3 separate regions of the Homo sapiens genome follow, and regions 1 and 2 are each linked to region 3. Evidence: promoter capture Hi-C in 16 types of primary human blood cells and fetal thymus (Javierre and others, 2016). All regions are on one chromosome and are shown on one strand. The core of a region is centred on a gene start or on the middle of the fragment in contact, and the rest is flanking DNA. Distances in the headings are between cores, read along the strand shown. Region 1 holds the start of PRPF8 (pre-mRNA processing factor 8). Region 2 overlaps PRPF8 (pre-mRNA processing factor 8). Region 3 holds the start of TSR1 (TSR1 ribosome maturation factor).

Region 1 (3,929 bases), core at 727-3,226, 650 kb after region 3:
ATGTTAGTTTCTATATCTAAACCTTTTTTGGCCTGGCACGGTGGCTCACGCCTGAAATCCCAGCAATTTGCGAGGCTGAGGTAGGCAGATTACTTGAGCTCAGTAGTTCGAGACCAGCCTGACAAACATGGAGAAACGCCATCTCTACGAAAAATACAAAATTAGCCGGGTGTGGTGGCACATGCCTGTAACCCCAGCTACTCAGGAGGCTGAGGCAGGAGAATCGCTTGAATCCTGGAGGCAGAGGTTGCAGTGAGCCGAGATTGTGACACTGCACTCCAGCCTGGCAACAGAGTGAGACTCTGCCTCAAAAAACAAAAAACAAACCAAAACCCCCACTTTTTTTCTATGAAACCAGCCTCGCTCTGTCACCCAGGCTGGAGTGCAGTGGTGCCATCATGATCCTCCCACCTCAGCCTCCCGAGTAGCTGGGACTACAGGCATGTACCACTATGCCTGGTTAATATTTTTATTATTTGTAGAGATGAGGGTCTCAGTATGTTGCCCAGGCTAGTCTTAAACTCATGAGTTTAACCAATCCTCTCGCCGCTGCCTCCCAACGTGCTAGGATTACAGGTATGAGTCACGGTGCCCGGCTTCTTTCTTAACTCTTTCTAGTAGTTCTACCACTTGGGATTACCTTTTTCCTTCCTCTCCATTTACCTTTATGAAATCCTCACATCCATCCATCTCCATCAAATCTTTAACAATTCTCCTCTGTCTTTTTTGACTGTAGGGACCTTTAGAACACCCAGCATTAAAAAATAGATTTCAGGCCGGGCATGGGGGCTCACGCCTGTAATCCCAGCACTTTGGGAGGGCCGAGGCAGGAGGATTTCGTAAGGTCAGGAGTTTGAGACCAGCCTGGCCAACATAGTGAAACCCTGTCTCTACTAAAAATCCAAAACTTAGCCGGCAGTAGTGGCGCGTGCCTGTAATCCAGCTACTCTGGAGACTGAGGCAGGAGAATTGCTTGATCCTGGGAGGTGGAGGTTGTGATGAATTGAGATCGCGCCATTGCACTCCAGTCTGGGCAACAGAGTGAGACCCTGTCTCAAAAAAACAAAAGGAATATTTTTTAAATTTTTACCGTTCTGAAAGCACATTGACATCCTTTGAATTTTTTTCTAATTATTTCACTTTGATTTGTAAATTCTCAACTAGATTCAGGGGCTGTATGGGTTACAATTCCTCTGCACCCTCCACAGAATTTCAGACTTTTTTTTTTCCCCCGAGACAGAGTCTCGCTCTGTCACCCAGGCTGGAGTGCAGTGGCGCGATCTTGGCTCACTGCAACCTCCCCCTCCCGGGTCAAGCGATTCTCCTGCCTCAGCCTCCCGAGTAGCTGGGACTACAGGCGCCCGCCACCACGCCCGGCTAATGTTTGTATTTTTAGTAGAGACGGGGTTTCACCATGTTGGCCAGGCTGGCCTCGAACTTCTGGCTTTAAGTGATCCGCCTGCCTCGGCCTCCCAAAGTGCTGCGATTCCAGGCGTGAGCCACCGCGCCCGGCCAAGGTCTTAATTCTTGCCTGCCTTTCTGCTCCCCTGTGAACTCTACTGGTTGTCTTTTTTCCTGCTTTATCCCTCGTCCTCGGTAGACAGTGATGGTTAAATGAATGAATGCATGAACAAATGACTGTCCAGGAGCTAGTACTGCATTGCATGTACACATTGATGACAACAGACATCGTACAATGCGCAATCTTGGCAAATTTATTCAAACCCTTTAGACTTCGCTCTCTCACAGTGCGACGCCGGGAGCCCATCACACGCTGAGGTCTGTCAGAGGCCCCAGAAACAGCCTCGGAAATGGAGGAGGCGGGGCTTCACCCCGACCACACCCCCTTGCGTTCAAAGCCTTTCCGCCTATGGGCCCGCCTCCTCGGCGCAGTGTGCAACTCTAATTGGTCGTCTCACTAATCCATCTGAGCACCTCGGCGCCGACTGGATCAACTGCTGAACTCGGGTTGCGCACTTCCCGGCGCTGGGAACGCGGAGCGGACGCAGTCTGGCCGCCATTGCGCTGCGGGGAAAGCGGCCTCTTGTGTGAGGGCCTGTGGGGTGCGTGGCAGGCGTTTAAGGCCGGGCTGCGGGAGGCGTGGTCGGGTCGGGCCGAGTGACCGAAGGGGTTAGGCCGGGCGGGGCTGGATGCACTGTGTGGCGGGACTGCAGGCCGGGGTCCCCGGACGCCTTTCTGCTGCGCTTCTTGTGGGCCCGGGCCTGTGGTTAGTGAATTTTTCTATCCCGCCGCTCCCCAGATTCTCCGGATATGGCCGGAGTGTTTCCTTATCGAGGGCCGGGTAACCCGGTGCCTGGCCCTCTAGCCCCGCTACCGGACTACATGTCGGAGGAGAAGCTGCAGGAGAAAGGTGAGGCGAGAGTGTGGAGCGGCGCGCGGGCCGGAGGCGGGGCGGGTGTGCGCGCGCGCAGGCGGGTGGGGACCCTCCCCGTTTGGGCAGCTCCTGAGGTGTCAGCTCCCTTGTTATTTCCAGTTAATTTTTCATCAAGTCATTTTAAGCGCGTATTATTTGCAAGCGCTGATCCAGCGGGGGTACAGTAGTGACGGAGACAAAATTCCTGTCCTTACGGGGTTTAAATTACAGCGGGAGAGACAGAGAATAACAAAACCTTGAAGCTCTGTAATAAAAATGTCAGGCCGGGCGCGGTGGCTCACGGTTGTAATCCCAGCACTTTGGGAGGCCCAGGCGGGCGGATCACCTGAGGTCAGGAGTTCGAGACCAGCCTGGCCAACACAGTGAAACCTCGTCTCTACGAAAAATACAAAAATGAGTCGTGTGTGGTGGCGCGTGTCTATAATCCCAGCTACTGGGGAGGCTGAGGCAGGAGAATGGCTTGAACCCAGGAGGCGGAGGTTGCAGTGAGCCGACATCGCACCATTGCACTCCAGCCTGGGAGACAGAGTGAAACAACCTCTCAAAAAAAAAAAAAAAAGTCAGATAGTGATCAATGTGATGAAAGGAAAAACAGAGTAAAATGGTAAGGGAATTGGCAAGGGGTGCTTCTTCCTGCTGGTGCCTGCTTCTCCCTCACACTCACTGACAGGAGCTTACCCTAGGGCAAGAGGTGAAGAGGATTAGGGGGAGGGTGTGCAGGCCTTTAAACTGAGGTGCCTTTCCAGCTCGAAAATGGCAGCAATTGCAGGCCAAGCGCTATGCAGAAAAGCGGAAGTTTGGGTTTGTGGATGCCCAGAAGGAAGACATGCCCCCAGAACATGTCAGGAAGATCATTCGAGACCATGGAGACATGACCAACAGGAAGTTCCGCCATGACAAAAGGGTTTACTTGGGGTAAGGAACATCCTGAAATAATTTCATTTGGAATTTGGCCCTTTTCCCTTCTCCCTGTCCCACAGTCTTGGATTGATGCTTTGACAGCTCATCTTGGTGGATATAAGAGAAAGGAGAAAACCAGTAGGAGTCTCTGATAATTTCTACATCTTCCACTTTTGCAGTCTGTTTCCCCTCTCTTCCCGATCTGGGACTGGTGCTTTAATTTGTCCTGTTGATGATATTATAAGATGTCCCTGGCCAGGCGCGGTGGCTCATGCCTGTAATCCCAGCACTTTGGGAGGCCGAGGCGGGTGGATCATGAGGTCAGGAGATCGAGACCATCCTGGCTAACACGGTGAAACCCCGTCTCTACTAAAAATACACAAAATTAGCTGGGCGTGGTGGCAGGTGTCTGTAGTCCCAGCTACTTGGGAGGCTGAGGCAGGAGAATGGCGTGAACCTGGGAGGCGGAACTTGTAGTGAGCCGAGATCACACCACTGCACTCTGGCCTGGGCGAAAGTACGAGACTCCGTCTCAAAAAAAAAAAAAAAATGAAAAATAAGATGTCCCTATGGTTGAGCTGGTTGAAGTCCAGAGTGGGATACTGTGCATAGTGGCAGCCTGTCGCTCCTCAGG
Region 2 (4,237 bases), core at 19-2,518, 680 kb after region 3:
GCACTCAAGAGGCAAGAGGCCATTGCTCAGAACAGGTGGGCACCTAGGAGGGCATGCCAACCCTGGGGCAGGGGCAGTGGTGGCCTTTGAACCGTGTGGAGTTCAGGGTCAGAGCATGCCATGGTTGTATGGAGGTGAGAAGGCTGGTTCTACTGACCCTAATTATTTTTGGCCAGGAAGGAGTGCTGAGCTCCTCATATGAGATCACGTTTTGACTTGAATCTTTCTTTTTTTGGAAGACGCCTGACTTTAGAAGACCTAGAAGATTCATGGGATCGTGGCATTCCTCGAATCAATACCCTCTTCCAGAAGGACCGGCACACACTGGCTTATGATAAGGGCTGGCGTGTCAGAACTGACTTTAAGCAGTATCAGGTATGTAGAGGGAGCAGATTTTCCCTGAGTCAGGAAAATCCATGGCTATCCCCGAAACTTGGGGCAATAGGCACCCAGAAGCTTGACCGTGCCTGCCTTGCCATCTAGGTTTTGAAGCAGAATCCGTTCTGGTGGACACACCAGCGGCATGATGGGAAGCTCTGGAACCTGAACAACTACCGTACAGACATGATCCAGGCCCTGGGCGGTGTGGAAGGCATTCTGGAACACACACTCTTTAAGGGCACTTACTTCCCTACCTGGGAGGGGCTTTTCTGGTGAGGATTCTCCTCTCTTAGAGGGACCTGTCACAACCCTTTGAGCTCATCTCTTGTATGCCTCTGTGATTTCCTGTGGTGTTTCCCAGACAGCCACCTCCAGGAGGTTAGCAGTGTGCTGGGAAATGGCAGGATATCACCTCACCTGCTTCTCTTGCTCCCCAGGGAGAAGGCCAGTGGCTTTGAGGAATCTATGAAGTGGAAGAAGCTAACTAATGCTCAGCGATCAGGACTGAACCAGATTCCCAATCGTAGATTCACCCTCTGGTGGTCCCCGACCATTAATCGAGCCAATGTGAGTGTGATTGACACTGGAGAGGGGAAGCTAAAGACAGTTGCTGCTTCTTGCCTTGGTTATGTCGTGAGCGCCCGAGTCTCTTGATCTCTAATGTCACATTGTCGTTTTCCTGGCAGGTATATGTAGGCTTTCAGGTGCAGCTAGACCTGACGGGTATCTTCATGCACGGCAAGATCCCCACGCTGAAGATCTCTCTCATCCAGATCTTCCGAGCTCACTTGTGGCAGAAGATCCATGAGAGCATTGTTATGGACTTATGTCAGGTGGGCTGGAATCGAGGGGAGAGGGTACTGTAGAGAGTCAGCTCAGGTGGAATTGAGGGGAGAGGGTACTGTACAGAGTCAGCTCAGGTGGAATCGAGGGGAGAGGGTACTGTACAGAGTCAGCTCAGGTGGAATCGTGGGGAGAGGGTACTGTAGAGAGTCAGCTCAGGTGGAATCGCAGGGAGAGGGTGCTGTACAGAGTCAGCTTAGGTGGAATCGCGGGGAGAGGGTGCTGTACAGAGTCAGCTCAGGTGGAATCGCGGGGAGAGCGTGCTGTACAGAGTCAGCTCAGCTTGCTCTTTTGCATATGGGAAATCCACCCTGGAAGCTCTGAGGATGAGACTCCTATTGCCTCATTATCTTATTGTACAAACTCTGATTTTAATTGGGCTTCCTTAACAAGTCTTAATCTCTCCATGTTTTCCTTCAGGTGTTTGACCAGGAACTTGATGCACTGGAAATTGAGACAGTACAAAAGGAGACAATCCATCCCCGAAAGTCATATAAGATGAACTCTTCCTGTGCAGATATCCTGCTCTTTGCCTCCTATAAGTGGAATGTCTCCCGGCCCTCATTGCTGGCTGACTCCAAGTAAGTGCCTCAGGACCCAGCCCTAGGCAGCCAGGACACTTTCGTTTTCCTGTTCTTCTAGCCCTGCAACTTTAGGAATTGTCCTGTCTGCCTTTGTTTCAAACTTGGAGCCAGTGCTACGCTTGGAGCCTGTCAACACCCTTAGTCAGATCTGCTGATTCTCTGGGGTCCTGCTGACCTGGAACAAGTTGGTGGAGTGGGTGGGATGGTTTTGGGATTTAAGTGGTTCTGGTTCTGGGGACATTGGTTATGCCCATGGTTTCTTAGAAGCTTGAACCCTCTTCATCCTCAGGGATGTGATGGACAGCACCACCACCCAGAAATACTGGATTGACATCCAGTTGCGCTGGGGGGACTATGATTCCCACGACATTGAGCGCTACGCCCGGGCCAAGTTCCTGGACTACACCACCGACAACATGAGTATCTACCCTTCGCCCACAGGTGTACTCATCGCCATTGACCTGGCCTATAACTTGCACAGGTGAGTTGAGGCTCAGGACCATGTATTTTCAGGCCAGGCGCAGTGGCTCACACCTGTAATCCCAGCACTTTGGGAGGCCGCGGTGGGCAGATTGTCTGAGCTCAGGAGTTTGAGACCAGTCTGGGCAACATGGTGAAACCCTGTCTCTACCAAAATACAAAAAATTAGCTGGGCGTGGTGGTCCACGCCTGTAGTCCCAGCTACTCAGAAGGTTGAGGTGGGAGAATTACTTGAACCCGGGAGGCGGAGCTTGCAGTGAACCGAGATTGCGCCACTGCACTCCAGCCTGGGCGACAGAGTGAGACTCCATCTCAAAGAAAAATAATAATAATAATAAATAAATAAATAATCCGTGTATTTTCCATTAGCTCCATACTTTAACGTAGTCATACTTTTTTACTTTACCTAAGTGAGAGGAAGTGGCCCATTCCTCCTATGGGTCACTGATTCTCTTCTCCAGCCTGTATGTACACATGAGCAGAGTGTTGTCAGCCTGGCGAACAGTCTTTCTTCCTCTGTAGAGTTGGCAGCTTGTCTTGTTTCTGGGGCTGTCATTCTCGTCTTAACTTTTCTTGACCCTTTTATCCTCACAGTGCCTATGGAAACTGGTTCCCAGGCAGCAAGCCTCTCATACAACAGGCCATGGCCAAGATCATGAAGGCAAACCCTGCCCTGTATGTGTTACGTGAACGGATCCGCAAGGGGCTACAGCTCTATTCATCTGAACCCACTGAGCCTTATTTGTCTTCTCAGAACTATGGTGAGCTCTTCTCCAACCAGATTATCTGGTTTGTGGATGACACCAACGTCTACAGAGTGACTATTCACAAGGTGAGTGTTAGCAGCAGTGTATAGGTGCGGGACTCTGTACATGGCTGTGGGAGAGTAATGGGCTAAGTGTGTACACATGCTGGGAAGAAGGCAGGATGGGGATGTGTTGTGTAGGCCATGCTAACGAATGCCGTCCTCCTCTAGACCTTTGAAGGGAACTTGACAACCAAGCCCATCAACGGAGCCATCTTCATCTTCAACCCACGCACAGGGCAGCTGTTCCTCAAGATAATCCACACGTCCGTGTGGGCGGGACAGAAGCGTTTGGGGCAGGTGAGCAGGTTTAAAGATGAAGAGGCTGTAGAACCATGTTGCCTCTTATTCTTGGGGTGGACTTGGTAATATTTACTGGTTTATTAGATGAAAGGCTGAGAACATCTCATTTGAACTTATCCCCAAAATACCTTGGGAAGTATTCTGTGGGAGGTCCAAGAGTGTATGAGGTGCTTCGTTCCCTTCCAGCTGGTCTGTTTCCTGAATTTCTAACCTTGAACAGGGCTATCAAAAATCATTTTTCCAAAGGCAACGCATACTCTTTTTTTTTTTTTTTTTTTTTAGCCGGAGTCTCGCTGTGTGGCCCAGGCTGGAGCACAGTGGCTCAATCTCGGTTCACTGCAAGCTCCGCCTCCCGGGTTCACGCCATTCTCCTGCCTTAGCCTCCCGAGTAGCTGGGACTACAGGCGCCCGCCACCACGCCTGGCTAATTTTTTTTGTATTTTTTAGTAGAGACAGGGTTTCAACGTGTTAGCCAGGATGGTCTCGATCTCCTGACTTTGTGATCTGCCTGCCTCTGCCTCTGCCTCCCAAAGTGCTCGGATTACAGGTGTGAGCCACTGCTCCTGGCCAGCAATGCATATTCTCTTTTTTTTTTTTTTTTTTTGAGACGGAGTCTTGCTCTGTTGCCCAGGCTGGAATGCAGTGGCCTGATTTCAGCTCACTGCAAGCTCCGCCTCCCAGGTTCACGCCATTCTCCTGCCTCAGCCTCCCGAGTAGCTGGGACTACAGGTGCCCGCCACCACGCCCGGCTAAATTTTTTGTATTTTTAGTAGAGACGGGGTTTCACCATGTTGGCCAGGATGGTCTCAATCTCCTGACCTCGTGATCCGCCCGCCTTGGC
Region 3 (4,138 bases), core at 562-3,061:
GAAACTGAGGTGTGCGGCGCACCCCTCCGGCAGCGATCACTCCGTAGCTGGAGGCACAGCGGACGTCGGACAAGGGGGAGCTCAGCCCGCACGACACCCACTTAGGACGTGGGGAAGCTCGGCCCGCACGACACCCACCTGCGCCGCGGGAGCTCGCGCGGGGCCCCGCCCCCTCCCCTGGCGGCGCGGGCACTGAATGGGCAGCTCCGGATCCAGCCATCCCCGCCATCGCCGCCACCCCTCCCCCGGCCTTGGGCTCCCAGCGCCGCTGCCGTCACTGGGCGGGGAGCTGCGGGGCTGCGAAGCAAACAAGCCGGGAGCGCCGGCCGGGTCCCCCGGGCAGAGGGGCGCTGCCCTCCCCCATCCGAGAAAGGGGAAGGAGGCGCAGCCCGTCCAGGACCCGCCCCGCCCGGCCCAGGTTCGGCCCGGGTGCCCGCGCCGGGGGGTGGGCGCGGACCTTTCTGCCCCCTGGGCCGCGCGGGCCAGGGCGCGAGCCCCCCGGGGTTCTTGACTCGACTTTACCTCCTTCTTCACGTTCCACAGCAGTTTCTCTTTGACTGCGTCCTCTGCGCTGCCCATGGTGTGGCAGGAGGCGGCGCCGAGCGGTCCTCAGAGCCCCCGCGCCCTCGCCGCCTCCGCGCCTCTCGGCTCAGCGCCCCACGCGCAAGGCGGAGCCCCCGCCCGCCGCGCTCCCGGCCCGCCGCCGCCGCCGCCGCCGCAGCCACTGCCCGGTGCTCGGCTCCGCAGCCATCTTCCGAGCCCCGCACAGACGTCAGGCGGCAGGCCCGGCCCCTTCCCACAGCCGGAGGGGGGTTGCGCACAGCGACGGGGGATCGGGGCGGGGAGAGGCCGTGCGCGCCTAGGGGCGGCAGACCCGGGCGCGCGCCACGGGGGTCGCTGTCATGGCAACGCACCCGCTCCCGCATGGAGGGCGCGAAGCCGCATTGTGAGCGCTGGCCCTGGAGCCCGCGGCCCCGCGGCTGAGAGCGAGCCTCGGTCCCGCTGAAGCTCCCCTGACTTCTGCCTGCTCCCTCTCCCGACGGGACGGAAAGGGCCGGGGCTCGGGCATGGGGTCCCCTGCGGTCCGAGCCTGCCCACGGCGAAGCCGGTGCAGCCTGGCCCCGTGACCCCTCTGAATCCCCGTCCGGCCGTCGCCGTGCAGTTGTCAAGTTTCTGGGAAGATTAGTGGGAGCGCAGCCGCCCGAGCCCGACGGCCGGAGGGTCGCGGCCAGTCCCCCTTGCCGGGTCGCCACGTCCCACAAGGTCCTTCCCGGCCGCTCCGTGGGAGGCGGGGCGCAGGTTGGAGTAACAGGGACGGGCTTGAGCTGGTACGGAACCGGGCAAGGTGAGAGAAGTGTCTTCCACGCGATTCCCAAGCCTCGCTAGGGAATCGAGGGAGAAGAAAGGTTGCTCAGAGTGATAAAGAACATGCCGTTGCAAACGGAAGAGCAACGTGCCCGAATCTAGGTGACAGGAAGGGCTTAGGCCTTTTCGGCACGAATGGAGCCTTCCAGTCAACATGCTTCTACGTGATGCAGCTTTATAGCGCAAAAAAATGACAATGCAAGGGGTACAAACAGCCCTGCTAGACCAACAGCCCGAGCCTCGACAGTCTACATCCGGCGCCTTCAAGCCCCCAACCACACACTGCGAAGTGGGAAAAGTTCCCAGCGCGGCTTGGCGAACCCGCTAACACGGCGCTCTCACGAGCTGCTGGAAAAGACCTTCGCGAGAGGGCGCAGGGAGTCCCGCTCCCTGGAGGGCCCGCCCCCTTGGAGGGGACCGGAAGCGCTTGTCCTGGCCCGGAAGCAGTGCTGACTCCGTACACGCGCGCTGCGGCATGGCGGCCCACCGCCCCGGCCCGCTCAAGCAGCAGAATAAAGCTCATAAAGGCGGACGGCATCGGGGTCGGGGATCTGCACAGCGGGACGGCAAGGGTAAGGAGATAACGTAGAAGGAATAAGGGCTATTTGGCCGTTATTAACTCTTTTTCCTCATGCCCAGACTGAGCTTCTGTCTCCCGTCTGGGCTCCACGCGAAAGGCCCTTTCTAAGGTGGGCGGAGAGGAGTCCCTTTTCTTGACCTTGTGGGGCCGATCACACCAGCCCCTTCTAATCTGCCATTCAGGCCGTCTGGCACTGAAAACCCTAAGCAAGAAGGTGAGAAAAGAACTCAGCAGAGTCGACCAGAGGCATCGCGCCAGCCAGCTCCGAAAGCAGAAGAAGGAGGCGGTGAGAGGAGCGGGATTTGGGAGAATGCGGCTTCTCTGGTGTTCTAGGTGGCTAATGCCTCGAAGTGGAAAATGAGACCGGGAGGAGGGTCCAGGGACAGAGCATAGCCCTAGAGCACGTGTCGAGCGTGCAGGTCTAGCATTCTTTGCTTTGGTCAGAATTCCTGCCACCCCGCTGGCATACCTGTGGTCTTTTACTAGAGAGATGCTGGTTTTGGGTAGGGGGAGCATCTGTGGGAGTGGAAATGCAATGCTGGAGTGAAGTACTGAGACACTGAGATGTTCTCGGATATCTTTCTATTTTCAGGTTCTGGCAGAGAAGAGACAGCTGGGTGGCAAGGATGGCCCTCCTCATCAGGTACTGGTGGTGCCCCTGCACAGCAGAATTTCCCTGCCAGAGGCCATGCAGCTGCTTCAAGATAGGGACACTGGAACAGTACACTTGAATGAATTGGGAAACACCCAGAACTTTATGCTGCTGTGCCCCCGCTTGAAACATCGGTGGTTTTTCACCTCAGCAAGGCCAGGTTAGAGTATACACCAATATTTTGTATTATGTTTGAGTAGTGGTATTTTTTTTTTTTTTTTTTAGAATAATGTGCTGGTGCCAACCACCTCTTCTTACTGTGTCTTCTATCTGCAGGGGATCTGCACGTTGTGTTAGACATGGCTAAAGTAGCTGATACCATCCTGTTCCTCCTTGATCCACTAGAAGGCTGGGACAGCACCGGTGATTACTGTCTTTCCTGCCTCTTTGCTCAGGGCCTTCCGACCTATAGTAAGTGAGTTAGCATTTATTGTGCACCTTTAATTTGTCAGGCACTATGCCTGGTATTTGATACAGGAATACAACTGATGGATCATATTCAGCTGGTGGTGGGATGTACACATATGGATTAAACTTGATCCATTGTTTACAGATTATCACTCAGGGTGTCTTTTTGTTTTTGGCTGTCCTTTGCCCAGAGAAACAAGGATATGAAGTTTGATTTCACTGTGAAATTCCTTCAGGGTAGTTCAGTGTTGGGCTTCCCAGTGATCTCTGGGCTTGCAACTGAGCTATTAGGTTGTTTGTGAACTGCAGAGGGATTTTTATGTAATGAAGCAGTAGGTCATGAAGCGTTTTCTCTTTCGCTTACAGCACTAGCTGTCCAGGGGATTTCTGGCCTCCCACTGAAGAAACAAATAGATACCAGGAAGAAGCTAAGTAAAGCAGTGGAGAAGCGCTTTCCGCATGACAAACTCCTCTTGTTAGACACTCAACAGGAGGCAGGGATGCTGCTTAGGCAGTTGGCTAACCAGAAGCAACAGCATCTTGCTTTTCGAGATCGGCGGGCCTACCTATTTGCCCATGCTGTTGATTTTGTTCCTAGTGAAGAGAATAACTTGGTGGGCACCTTGAAAATTTCAGGCTATGTTCGAGGGCAGACTCTGAATGTCAATAGGTTGCTGCATATCGTTGGATATGGTGATTTCCAGATGAAACAGATAGATGCCCCCGGAGACCCTTTCCCTTTAAATCCTAGAGGAATTAAACCCCAAAAGGACCCAGACATGGCAATGGAGGTAAGACTGATATTCTTAATTCATGTTCATATGAAAGTTGGCACAGGAAGGAAACTTAAATTCAGAGAAGATAGTCTGTACACTTAGGTGAATGAGGAGACTGCTAGTCTGAAGTAAGGCAATAGTCAGTTATAAATAGGTTGATAAATCACATATTTATCCAGCACTTTCTAGGTAGTCTGCACTGTGATTGGCTCTGAGTTTATAGAACACACTCAAGATGTGGTTGCTTTCCTCAAGGGACTTAATTGGGCTGGAACAAAATGGCATGTGTGAAATAAAGATTGAGATAGCATATGGTTAGAGTGCGGACCAGCAGTGGAAGTTGAGAAAGTAGACTAG

What was found. The method cuts DNA at HindIII sites, captures the fragments that hold promoters and counts their contacts. A CHiCAGO score of 5 or more calls a contact.
Region 1: the fragment with the promoter of PRPF8 here is called in contact with the fragment with the promoter of TSR1 in region 3 in 13 of 17 cell types (total CD4 T cells, fetal thymus, naive CD8 T cells and 10 more); the score reaches 14.0 in total CD4 T cells.
Region 2: a contact is called between a fragment that was not itself captured here and the fragment with the promoter of TSR1 in region 3, in 1 of 17 cell types (fetal thymus). The highest score is 5.1, in fetal thymus.

Annotation. Positions count from the first base shown.
Region 1 is chr17:1,682,914-1,686,842 of GRCh38, reverse strand. PRPF8 (pre-mRNA processing factor 8) reads left to right here and starts at 1,976. Exons shown (of 43, transcript NM_006445.4): 1 at 1,976-2,063; 2 at 2,261-2,371; 3 at 3,142-3,310. The coding sequence starts at 2,272. The HindIII fragment of the contact is 11,873 bases long and covers 1-3,929 here.
Region 2 is chr17:1,657,409-1,661,645 of GRCh38, reverse strand. It overlaps PRPF8 (pre-mRNA processing factor 8), which reads left to right. Exons shown (of 43, transcript NM_006445.4): 26 at 1-35; 27 at 240-375; 28 at 484-653; 29 at 819-948; 30 at 1,068-1,214; 31 at 1,645-1,805; 32 at 2,098-2,289; 33 at 2,883-3,120; 34 at 3,265-3,393. Among named protein-coding and RNA genes, the nearest start is that of RILP, 9.7 kb to the right of the region's middle. The HindIII fragment of the contact is 1,619 bases long and covers 459-2,077 here.
Region 3 is chr17:2,334,130-2,338,267 of GRCh38, reverse strand. It overlaps TSR1 (TSR1 ribosome maturation factor), which reads left to right and starts at 1,811. Exons shown (of 15, transcript NM_018128.5): 1 at 1,811-1,937; 2 at 2,128-2,231; 3 at 2,538-2,757; 4 at 2,874-3,008; 5 at 3,372-3,796. The coding sequence starts at 1,841. It overlaps SGSM2 (small G protein signaling modulator 2), which reads right to left and starts at 767. Exons shown (of 24, transcript NM_014853.3): 1 at 523-767. The coding sequence starts at 579. RefSeq lists silencers at 84-393, 424-523, 624-733, 834-1,143, 1,174-1,303 and an enhancer at 1,534-1,643. The HindIII fragment of the contact is 5,731 bases long and covers 1-4,138 here.